Regions from separate parts of the Homo sapiens genome. Here region 1 is linked to region 2. Evidence: promoter capture Hi-C in 16 types of primary human blood cells and fetal thymus (Javierre and others, 2016). All regions are on one chromosome and are shown on one strand. Each heading gives the region's core, a stretch centred on a gene start or on the middle of the fragment in contact. The rest is flanking DNA. Distances are from core to core; before and after follow the strand shown. Region 1 holds the start of RBBP6 (RB binding protein 6, ubiquitin ligase). Region 2 holds the start of USP31 (ubiquitin specific peptidase 31).

The links. The method cuts DNA at HindIII sites, captures the fragments that hold promoters and counts their contacts. A CHiCAGO score of 5 or more calls a contact.
Region 1: a contact is called between the fragment with the promoter of RBBP6 here and the fragment with the promoter of USP31 in region 2, in 1 of 17 cell types (non-activated CD4 T cells). The highest score is 5.9, in non-activated CD4 T cells.

Annotation. Positions count from the first base shown.
Region 1 is chr16:24,535,140-24,541,524 of GRCh38, reverse strand. RBBP6 (RB binding protein 6, ubiquitin ligase) reads right to left here and starts at 1,959. Exons shown (of 18, transcript NM_006910.5): 1 at 733-1,959. The coding sequence starts at 898. RefSeq lists enhancers at 309-1,301, 1,302-2,296, 3,723-4,017 and silencers at 1,513-1,692, 1,963-2,012. The HindIII fragment of the contact is 3,955 bases long and covers 364-4,318 here.
Region 2 is chr16:23,146,774-23,152,705 of GRCh38, reverse strand. USP31 (ubiquitin specific peptidase 31) reads left to right here and starts at 3,254. Exons shown (of 16, transcript NM_020718.4): 1 at 3,254-4,068. The coding sequence starts at 3,436. RefSeq lists an enhancer at 2,854-3,073 and silencers at 3,254-3,353, 3,504-3,553, 3,654-3,753, 3,884-4,113. The HindIII fragment of the contact is 4,661 bases long and covers 1,093-5,753 here.

The DNA of each region.
Region 1 (6,385 bases), core at 710-3,209, 1.4 Mb before region 2:
AAAAAAAATCAGTACTTTTGATCTTCACCGAATTGATAAAGCTTAAGAGTAATGTGATGAACTAACAGTTTAACTACTTAATTGCCGTATTACTAATTCTGGAATTGACACACAAGACAAGAGCGGTGACATCAGAACATTTCAAGATCCAAAAACAATTCCAATACTGATTAAATCCTCAAAAATATTAAAGTTCAGATCCCTTATCCACAACACAGGCAAGCAACTCCAAATAAATAAATGCGAGGAGGGAGGAAGGCAGGACATAAAATTTGCCATCAAACTCCACAATGTTGTTAGGTTAGAAAATTGTTTTTTTGGTTTTTTTTTTGTTTTTTTTTTTGCTGATTGAACAAACAAGCTTTGCACAGGCTCTCCTGCCCTCCTGATGGAAAATAAGTTAGAAAACGCCCTAAGACAAGCACTCAAAGAGTCTAGATAGCTATCCCCCTCTCCTCCCTCCCTCATTTTAAAAAACAGCGAGAAGAATAATCAGGCTTCCACGTTTTGGGTTAGCCTGTTACAGATGACCCAAGTATGCAGAAATAAAATAAACCAGTGAAACTCCAAGGCCAACTGCTGCAAACCTTGGCTATCAATGAAAGTTGTATCCAAAGTACTAGAACGAACAGTCCCCACTAGAGACATAATGGCGGTTAGCTTCCTGCCAGGCACCTTCTAGCTAGTATCTCTCTCCAGCCACCAAATATCTTAAGACCAAGCGGCCCTTACCTTCTTTCGTCTGCGCATTGGTGATCTGCAGGTCGCAGTCGGCAGCTTTCAGCTTCTCTCTCCCCATAATCTGCTTCTTTAAGTCGCAGAGGGAGATGTGGAGCCCATCAAAGGTGACGGTATCATAGTTGAGTTTAGAGGAAAATTTATAATGCACACAGGACATGGTGCCAAGGGATTCCTAAGGTTCAGCGAGGAGACGTGGACACTCTCAATATACGTATATTTATAAACTTTAAGAGCAAAATATGTACACACAAAACACTCAAAGACACCGAAGGACCCTAAGGCCTCAGATTAAATACCCCCCAACCACAAGCAGGGGTTCGTCAGAACAATAATCCAGAGACCCCCCGATACTCAGAATCACTTCATGGGGGAGGAGGAGGACGAGGACGGGGAAGAGGGGAAATCGAGAATCCGCCAACGGGCACAATGTCACCCGGCTGGGTCCCCCTCGCTCATGCTAAGGGGCCGGCAGAGACGGGGGGATTGGCGGTGCAGTCAGTAGCGGTCAGTCCACACGTTAAGAGTCCGAGCGACCCCACGGGGTCAGGGGTCCATAGCGCGGCCGCACCTCCCGGCGGGTCTCTCTCTCCGTGGATTGGGGTGACCCAGGCCCCGGGAGAAGGTTGAGGGGAGAGGGCCTAGGCCCGGAGTCCACGAGCGGCCTCACGCCTCCTCCTGGCTTCCGGACGACCGGCGTCAGCTTCCCCAGGCCCAGGCCCAGGCCCCCACCGCACACAAACCCCTGGCGCCTGCTCCCCGGAGGCCACGAGCGGCCCCACGGCCTAGGCCGAAAACGCGCGGTCGGCGGAGGAGAGGCCTTCCCGCAGGCCGCCCCCGGCTCCGCCTCCCCCCGCCGCCGCCGCCGCCTCGGACACAAAGCCGGCGCTAGGCCTCGGCGAGGCCTCGGAGCACTTCCTCACCACCCCGGGCCCCAGCCGGCGGCCGGGTGGCTTCGGCGGACCCCGGGGACACCGCCGAGGCTCCCTGACGCTTCTTCTCGCCGGATCCTCCGCGCTTCGCTCGCCTTTCGTTTCCGTCGCCTTGAGGCCCGGAACCGCGAGAACACGCCCGCAAGCTGCTGGGCAGCGGCTAGGGCTTCTCCGGCTCCCTTTTTGTGTTGGCCCCCTGCCGCTCGGGGGCTCTCACCGAGCGGCGGCGACACCTCCAAGCCAGGTACTATGGCGGACGCGGCCTGGCTTCGGACGAGCGCCCCACTGCGGGGTCTCTTAAGCAGGGATTGCACGGGCGGCGCGCGCGAGGCGGGGCTGGCGTGCGCGGATAGGCGGGCCGAGAGGCGGGGCGGCTGACGTCACAAAGCGCACGGCCCGCCCACGTGACCCCGCGCTTTGTGACTCCAAAGCGCGGAAACTGAAAGAGCAGGGACAACGGGAAGAACCATCTGCTTCAAAAGGGAGGGGGGTTGCGCGTCAGGAGGACCGGCTCACAGGGAGGCTCGGTGGGGAGAGCTCGCCTTGCAGGGGCTGCGTGCAGTTTCCACTGCAAAGTGGCTTGCCTAGGGGTGGCCGGCTAACTCCCCCTTCCCCACAGGCCCCGTCAGCTCCTCTAAGCCTCCCAATTTAAGTGAGCATTATGGTTGCTACGCAGAAAACTATGGTTGCTATGCAAGCGCTCCCTAGCTGCTGCTTCCAATAAACTGGCTACCCTATACTCTTGACAAGTGGAAATCGTGGAGCAGCCGCTGCCAAGAACTGATAACAGCCACCAGCACCATACAGATTTATTGAGCTCTTACTATGTGCTAGGCACAGGGCTGATCGCATAACAACATTGCCAGGCTCAGCAGCCACGTTGTCTGGGTTGGATCCCTGGCTGTGGGGGCTCTAGATTTAACCCCTCTGTGCCTGGGTCTCCTTGGCTGTAAAATGCCATTAAAAATAGTACTTGGTTTACTTGGATTAAATAAATGCACATAAATCCATAGTCTAAGACCATGCCGGTGCATTGACGTGGCTCAATGCACCGAAATATTAATAGCTGTAGCTCAATAAATGTCAATTTAACAACAAAAACCCTACGTGGTCAACATGACATTATTTCCGATTTATAGATGATGGAACTGAAGCTAGCAATCATGTACTTTCTGAATTTGCAGAAGGGGATGCCTGCTCAGTGGCAGGGTCCCGATTCCATTCCTAAGCGCAAATGCCAGGAACAGTGACAAGAACCCCCTCAGTAGATTGGAATTTTTTTTTTCCTTTGGGCATGGGGACGTTATTACATTCAGAAAAAATCATAATATAATAAAATTACATTCATAAACGATAGTTATTATCGTTTACAATCCATGTTCCTCATCCTCTCTGAATTTTACAGGCTAGGCTCAGTGAATTTAGGCAACTGAGAATAAGATCCTATAGCCGAGAAGTAGCAGAGTTTCCCAGGGACTTCCTGCAAGCACACTCCAAATTCTTACTGAACTTGATTTAAAATTAATCACCATCCTGCCAGAAAAGCCTTCCTAAGGCCATCTTTTTAAAATAAGATGGCGATCTTTCTCTATCCCTTTAGTCTTTTCTTCCTAGCACTTGCAGATAGTTGACAGTTACACATTTACTTTTTAATTATCTATCTCCCCCAACCCCTACCTTCGGCTGACAATAGGAATCTTATCTTTATATTTGTTTTTGCTGTATCCTCAGCTCTTAGAACATAGTAGGTGCTCAATAAATACGTGCTGAATAACTGGATACATTTTTACGTGATCCATAGAGATGTCGTGGCAATAAAATTTTGGCCGTAGTCAAGGGCAGCTCTAGAGATACCATTACAATTTAACTCAACCACACACATCAGTACTTTTCATATATAACAAGTTTCTTCCACTTTTACCTCTTTGTTATTTCACCAAAAACTTATTGCTGCCAGGTCCTCTTCAGGTTGGTTGCTTTTTTCTTAAAAGCCTCTGTGTGAATGAAAGGGCGAGGGCTATCTCTAGTGAAAGAAAAACTCGACGAGAAAATTGCAAGCCGTCATGGAATTCACTCCGAAGCGGTGAATCTGTTCCTTTTGCCCGTCTGTGGCCGACCCCTTTATATACTGAATGCCTAATTTAATCAGCGTGGTGCATCATGGGATCTCAAAGTGGGCCACACCCTCAGGATATGACAGAGTGGATCATAACCTAATCTGCAGGGGGGGATGTCCTTGGAAAGAATGTTGTCTATTGGTCCAACCGTTCTCATCTGCCAAAAACTTTGTTCAACCTTGATATTCTCACTTACAGAGGCCTCACTTCATATCACATCAAACAGGTCAAAATGCATTCACCACCTGCAATAAGCCTATGACTTGAGTTGCCTGACTAATTGACACAATGCTACATTTGGTCCATTTCACTGAATTCCTTTACTAATCTTCATTTTGCAGTTTTCTTTTTTTAAAAAAAAAACTTTTTATTTTCTTTTTTCTTCAGTGAGCTGAATTGTAAATTTTGCCGTTTTCTTTGGGTAATATGGAGCTGGTCTCCCTGACGCTTCTCTCCCTACCAATATTTTTGTAAGCCCTGAAAAAGCCTTTTGTACTATCCTACAGTGAATGAAGCATTCCTGTCTAAGCTTCTCATAATGTAACAATTCTGGAGCTCCCATGTCCCAGGATTTCAAACCTTTGTCATTCTCAAACCCAGTATAGCCTCATACCATTGACCATAGACAGTTAGTAAACCCCTTAACTTATTTTCTTATGTCAAAATTCAGTTCCAGCAAGCGGAATTGGGAGATCCAAGGAGCTCTGCCTGCCTGCTGTCTGTAGTGAACTACTCAAGCTCAGGAAGTCGGAATGAGATCTATTTCATGGAGGCTGTTCTCTTTTTGTTTGTTTAATTATTAGTAGTATTATTTTGGAGTCCGGGTCTTGCTCTGTCACCCAGGCTGGAGTGCAGTGGTGCAATCACAGTTCACTGTAACTTTGAACTCCTGGGATCAAGTAATCCTCCTGCTTCAGGCTCCTGAGTAGCTGGGACTATAGGCTTGTGCCAACATGCTCAGCTAATTTTTAGTTTTTTCAGTAGTGTCAGAGCCTCACTATGCTACCCACCCTGGTCTCAAACTCACGGCCTCAAGCAGTCCTCCCGCCTTGGCCTCCCAAAGTGCTGGGGTTACAGGACTGAGCTTGTGCCTGGTCCCACGGAAGCTGTTCTATGCTTGTATATTGAATGTAATCTTAAAAATGCACTAACAAGGCCAGGCATGGTGGCTCACGCCTGTAATCCCATTACTTTGGGAGGCCCAGGTGGGTGGATCACCTGAGGTTAGGATTTCAAGACCAGCCTCGTCAACGTGGTGAAACTCTGTCTCTACTAAAAATACAAAAATCAGCCTGGCGCACTGGCGCACACCTGTAATCCCAGCTACTGGGGAGGCTGAGGCAGGAGAATCACTTGAACCCAGGAGGCGGAGGTTGTGGTGAGCCGAGATCTTGCCACTGCACTCCAGCCTGGGTGACAGAACGAGACTGTACCTCAAAAAAAAAAAAAAAAAAAAATAGTTCTAAGCCTCTGTGTTGTCAGTCCAATTCACAGAAGGTAGATACATCCCTTACATCACACTGTATTTTCTCCAGAGAGTTGATTGCTTTTATGTTGCCTTTCTATTTTATTTAATATTTCAGCCTACAGTTGTTGGGGTATTTTTTATTTTTTTGCAGTTTATGTAATACAGCCCATCGACCGGCAGGGTGCTGTGGCTCATGTCTGTAATACCAGTACTTTGGGAGGCTGAGGTGGGAGGATAGCTTGAGCCGGGGAGTTTGAGGCAGCAGTGAGCTATGATCGTGCCACTGCACTCCAGCCTAAGCAACAAAGGGAGAACCTGTCTCCAAACAAACAAACAAAAGTCCATTGACCTTTCTCCCTTTATGGTTTTTGCTTTTGCTTTGAGAAATGGCTTGTAGCCCACTCAGCACTCACCTTAGATATTTTTTTGCTATATTTCCTTCCAGTTTATATATAGCTTCATGATTTTAAACTCCATAATCAATCTGATTTTTTTTGGTATATAGGGTATAATATAGAATGAAGATCACTGTATTCCCTTTTTCATTGTGAAGTATATTGTTAATAAAGAGTCCATGAGTGGTGGCTCACACCTGTAATCTTAGCACTTTGGGAGGCCAAGGTGGGAGTATCACTTGAGCCCAGGAGTTTGAGACCAGCCTGGGCAATATGGCGAAAACCCATCTCTACAAAAAATTAATAACTTAATCAGGCATGGTGTCGCATGCCTATGGTACCAGCTACTCAGAAGACTGAGGTGGGAGGATTGCTTGAGCCTGGGAGGTTGAGGCTACAATGAGCTGTGATTGTGCCACTGCACTCCAGCCTGGGTGACAGAGTGAGACCCTGTATCAAAAAATAAATAAATAAATAAATAAATAGAAAAGGGACAAAATATATATCTCGCTCTGTTGTCCAGGCTGGAGTACAGTGAGACAATCTCGGCTCACTGCAACCTCCACCTCCCGGGTTCAAGCGATTCTCTTGCCTCAGCCTCTCGAGTCACTGGGATTACAGTTCAGCACCACGCCGGACTAATTTTTGTATTTTTGGTAGAGACGGGGTTTCACCACTTTGGCCAGGCTGGTCTCAAACTCCTGACCTCAAGTGATCCACCTGCCTCGGCCTCCC
Region 2 (5,932 bases), core at 2,005-4,504:
GCAGCCTCCACCTCCTAGGCTCAAGTAATCCTTCCGCCTCAGCCTCCTGAGTAGCTGGGACTACAGAAGTGCACCACCACACCAGGCTTATTTATTTATTTTTTTAGAGACGGGATCTCGTGATGTTGCCCAGCCTGGTCTCAAACTCTTCCCGTCTCTGTCTGCCTGTGCTGAGATTACAGGCATGAGCCACTGCACCCGGCGGTGGTCTTTTTTAGGTCATGTTCCTGGGCTCTAGCTTCCAGGGGTAGGAAGGGGAATACCTGCTCCCTGCCACCCTACCCAGTTTTCATAGTGGGATCTTGAGTGGTCCTGCCTAATTTGGTATCCCTTGCAGACAGGAAGTTGGTTGAGATGTTGGATAGCAGAGAGACTGGCACATGATGTTCAACCTTACTCATACAAACAAAAAGTGCATTAATATGCCATCTTTTGTTCATCAAACTTGTCAATGTGAAAAAGACTGGAAAACTCAACAGTATGTTGGGATTGGGAAATGTGCATTTCCCATTAGTTGCTGACAGGATAAAACCTTTCTGGGGGTCAGCTTGACAATAGGTGTCATATATGGAATACGCATACCCTTTGATCCAAGGTTTCAGCCTAAGGAGATAGCTACATGATGGACAAGGTATAGGTCATGATAATATTCACTGCACTGTTGTTTCTAATTTACGTTTCCCGAGCTTAGGGGTAAGGGGTGGTACAGAGAGGGACAATGAAAGATTCACTACAGAATGTTCAAGGTGAGTCTTTAAGAATGATCATCTGAACATTCCAATGAGGAATTTTTTCAAGCCTGTGTCAAACTTTGAGGCTCAGTGGAGACCTATAAGACCTGTAAGCTTAGTGAGAGGGGCCCAGACTGGGAAGGCAGTTCTTAGGTATCCCACCAAGAAGTTCAGATATTGTTTAGAGGCCGGGCGCGGTGCCTCATGCCTGTAATCCCAGCACTTCGGGAGGCTGAGACAGGTGGATCACTTGAGGTCAGGAGTTCGAGACCAGCCTGGCCAACATGGTGAAACCCCGTCTCTACTAAAAATACAAAAATTAGGGCAACACGCTCGGGTCCCCTTCTACGCTGTGGAAGCTTTATTCTTTTGCTCTTCACAATAAATCTTGCTGCTGCTCACAAAACAAAACAAAACAAAAAACAAAAAACAAAAATTAGCCAGGTGTGCTGGCAAGTGCCTGTAATCCCAGCTACTCAGGAGTCTGAGGCAGGAGAATTGCTTGAACCCAGGAGATGGGGGTTGCAGGTGAGCTGAGATCCCGCCACTGCACTCCAGCCTGGTTGTTAGAGTGAGACTCCATCACACACACATACACACACACACACACACACACACACACACACACACACACGACATTGTTTAGGTATAAAGTTGCCAAATAATCAACCTGTTATATAATGGCTACCTTACTGGGTACCGAATAATGAGTAAGATGGGTCTCTACTGGGTTGAAGCCCACATATTAGTGAAGGTGATGATTGTAAACTGAATTGCAATATGGTCAAGTCAGTGTCATGAATGAGAGGTGCCAAGAGGGCCTGTGGAAGGGACATCTCCTGGAGGGGGTGATATCTAAGGTGGGACTTTAAGGATGAGGGGAAGTTAGCTAAGTAGAAAGGTTCTAAGTTAGCTAAGGAAAGGTTCAAGGGAGAGGGAACGGCTCCAGCAAAGGCCCTCGAGTCTAGATCAAACTGCCCAGAAGTTGAGGGCCATTGCATTCACATTTTAGTGTGAATAATCAGATGGCTTTCTTCCTGGTGTCCAGATAAGAATTTTGACTAAGAGGAGAGTGGAGCCGATTAGGGACAGTGCAGAGCACCCTGGAGATGTCATCATAGAGCCCTACTTACATTGGGGAGGGAGGTCAAAGGTAAAAACCATTTACTTTGAAACGTGGTGTAAGGTGGCCTTCATGTTTTAAAAAGGAGGAAGGGCTCTCCCTTCTCTGATTTCTCTCTTCTGCCTCAGGACTCAGACTAGCCCTTTTAGCAGAGGGGAGCCTATAGAGAGGAGGTCATATACTAGTTGATTTTGGACTAAAGGCATCCCAAAGATGTACTATTTTTTGCTCCCTGCACTATTTTTTTTTTAATGGAACCAACGTTTAAAAATAGGATTTCTGCCTTCTCTTAAAACATCAGATGATCTGGTAACGCTGAGCTCCTGTTCTCACATGGGAACAACTGGCTGGAGCTGAGTGGCAGCCACCTCTTTAGAAAGATGTTAATTTGAAGTCTGCTATAGTCCCCATCATTCCTTATATTTCCCCCAACACTGAGACCCAAGTCACTTGAAAGTCAATATGATGATTCAAACACCAGGATTCTTCACTCATTTGTGGGTTTGTGACCTGTGATATTTGTGGATTCGTGACCTTTGGTTTAGAGGTCAAGTATAGGGGTTGTAAATAAAACTTGGGTTTGAATCAGATAAGAACTGTACCAATCTCAAAGACGGTGAATTAAAGATTAAAGAAAATATTGCATGCTTGGCATAATGTGTGGAACACAACAGCTATTGTAAACACCCAGTAGGAATGTAAGCTGCAAGAGGGCAGGTAGAAACCGTGCTAATTTAATCCGCTGGGGATATGACATTTGATTCTAATTTAATAGGTTTAATTCTTTGCAATATCCCCAGTAACTGCTGAATGAATGAGTGAGTGAATGAATGAATGGAATGATGAATGATGGGAGAGCCCGGAGGAGTTTTAAAGGCTGGAATGAAAAGGAAAGTAGTTATGATAACAGCGTTTCGCTGGGACTCCAAGGTGCAGCCAGGAAGAAAAGCCCGCTGGGACGTGCCAGGGTCTGTGACTGCGCTCCGCTGGCACCCAGAGGGTAGGTATCTGCAACGTCCCTTGGGAGCCAGACAGGGCTGACTTGCCCAGGACCTGTCAGGGCCATGTCCACCAGCTCTTGCACGGTCTGGTAACTGACAGCATCCTGATTCCTGCACGTTCCCGCCTCTGCCATCTGACCAGCAAAGACAGAGACCCACCCCGGGGATCCACCATCCAACGGGAGCCCAGCCTTTTCCTCCAAGCCGGGACGGCGCCCACACTAGACATGGCCTCCCTCGGGCTTCACGCAGCAGGACCGCGCCCGCAGCCTCCAGGCATCGCGTCCGGCTGGAGAGGCAGCTACCGTCCCACAGTGAACATGGCGGCCGAGGCGGCTTCAGCGCCGGGCGGGCGGCGCCGGGAGGCACGTCACGTGAGCGGCTCAGCTGGGCGGACCGCGCGCGCGCCCGCTGGCCCCGCCGGCCGCCGCTCGCTCGCTGGCTCGGCTGCGCTTTGAGGTGTGTGGGGCGTCGAGCCCCCGGGCCCGGTGAGGCGCGGCGCTGCGGGATGCGGCGGCGGCCGTGGCGGGGCCGCGGGCCGGGCGGGCGGGCGCGGTGATGAGTGTCTGCGGCCGCCGCCATGTCCAAGGTAACGGCGCCTGGGTCCGGGCCGCCGGCGGCGGCGAGCGGGAAGGAGAAGCGCTCCTTCAGCAAGCGGCTGTTTCGGAGCGGCCGCGCTGGCGGCGGCGGCGCGGGGGGCCCCGGGGCGTCCGGGCCGGCCGCGCCTTCCTCGCCCTCCTCGCCCTCCTCTGCACGCTCGGTGGGCAGCTTCATGAGCCGCGTTCTCAAGACGCTGTCCACGCTCTCGCACCTTAGCTCTGAGGGCGCCGCCCCAGACCGCGGCGGCCTCCGCAGCTGCTTCCCGCCCGGGCCGGCCGCCGCGCCCACGCCGCCGCCGTGCCCGCCGCCGCCCGCCTCTCCCGCGCCGCCCGCTTGCGCCGCCGAGCCGGTGCCCGGCGTGGCGGGGCTCCGCAACCACGGCAACACGTGCTTCATGAACGCCACGCTGCAGTGCCTCAGCAACACCGAGCTCTTCGCCGAGTACCTGGCGCTGGGCCAGTACCGGGCGGGGCGGCCCGAGCCCTCGCCTGACCCGGAGCAGCCTGCGGGCCGCGGCGCGCAGGGCCAGGGCGAGGTCACTGAGCAGCTGGCGCACCTGGTGCGGGCCCTCTGGACCCTGGAGTACACCCCGCAGCACAGCCGCGACTTCAAGGTGAGCCCGCGCGCCGCCGCGCCCCCACTGCACCCCGAGCCCCTGGGGCACCTGCCCGCCCAGGTCTTCCTTCCCTCGGTTCCTCTTGGCCCGGCAGGCTTCTGCATTGGTTGCTCCGAGTGGTCTGGGCAGTCGACCAGTGATTTTAAGGAGATTCATTCATTCATTCATTTATTCACTCACTCACTCACTCAAACATGTATTTATTGAGAACTTACTACATACGTGCCCATACTCTGTGATAATAGGCAATGGGAGTGACGTTGCAATGAACAAGACTATCCGCCTTCATGGAACTTGCATTTTTGTGGGGTGGGAGTGTTGAGCATGGGTTCAAATCCTGGTTCTGCCACTTACTAGCAATGTGACGTCGGGTAAGTTAAGCAGCCTCTCTGTTCTTACAGTTTCTTCATCTGGGGGACCTACTTTGTAAGGTGGTTGTGAGCTGCAAACAAGTTAATATATTAAATCGAACACTGTGGAATTACCCATATTTAACCGTTTTTTATTTACAGATTGGCACTTTTATAGGGTTCAACCTGATAAGTAAAATACTTCCATATCATGTGTATTTGCTGCTATTATTTTTGTTATTAAAGACTTGAAGAAGTTAACGAGATAATATCAGATAGTGGTTTGAAGAAAGAAAAACCTGCTGCTGTGATTGATGTGCTGACAGGCTACTTTTTATTTTTATTTTATTTTTAGAGACAGGGTCTTGCTCTGTTGCCCAGGCTGGAGTGCAGTGCTCACATAGCCTCAAACTCCTGGGCTCAAGCAATCCTCCCGCCTCACCTTCCAGAGTATTTAATAGCTGGGACTACAGACACACACCACCATACCTACCTATTTTTTATTTTTAAAACACTTTTGTAGAGACGGGGGTTTTGCTGTGTTGCCCAGACTGGTCTTGAACTCTTGTCCTCAAGCCACTCTCCCCGCTTTGGCCTCCCAAAGTGCTGGGATTACAGGGGTGAGCTATACATCCCTGGGGGTATGTATGGCCCTTGGCCAAGCCCTCCTTTGCTGTTTGCTGGTGGGGCTGCAAGTGTAGTGAGAGGGTGAGATTTGAGAGCCGAGTGGTGGGCTGGGACCGGATGGTATGGGACCATTTAGGATGCACTAAGAAATTGGGCGGTTACTCTAAGCAGAAGGGGAACATGATGTGAGATTGTGTAAGGGATACTTTCAGGTGGGACATGAATATGGTATTAAACAGCATGGAATCGGGCGGGGCGCAGTGGCTCATGCCTGTAATCCTAGCACTTTGGGAGGCCAAGGCGGGTGGATCACCTGAGGTCCGGGGGTTCGAGACCAGCCTGACCAACATGGAGAAACCCCATCTCTACTAAAAATACAAAATTAGACGGGCGTGGTGGTTCATGCCTGTTATCCTGGCTACTCAGGAGGCTGAGGCAGGAGAATTGCTTGAACCTGGGAGGCGGACGTTGCAGTGAGCCGAGATCGTGCCATTGCACTCCAGCCTGGGCAACAGGAAACTCTATCTGTAAAAACAAAACAAAACAAAAACAGCGTGAAGTCACACAGGGAGAAGGTTAATTCCTTTTTTTTTTTCCTATCCTAATCTTGCCCAGGACGAAGTCTCAGCTTGATGTTAGCCTGTTTTTAATACCTCTTGTTCACCCCCCACCCATTTTTTTTTTTTTTTTTAAACAGAACAAGCTTCAAGTCTAGAAGCATTGGCAGGTAACAGTAGCTAGAATTTAATAAGGTTATGTTTTTATTGGGTTTCCATTTGTCTTCAATTCATGGCAAAAGGTACTGGTTTCCCATTGGTGCTATAAAGCTTCTTTATAACAACATTTAAGTAAAAGGAGATGATTTTGTTAAAATATGAAAAGGT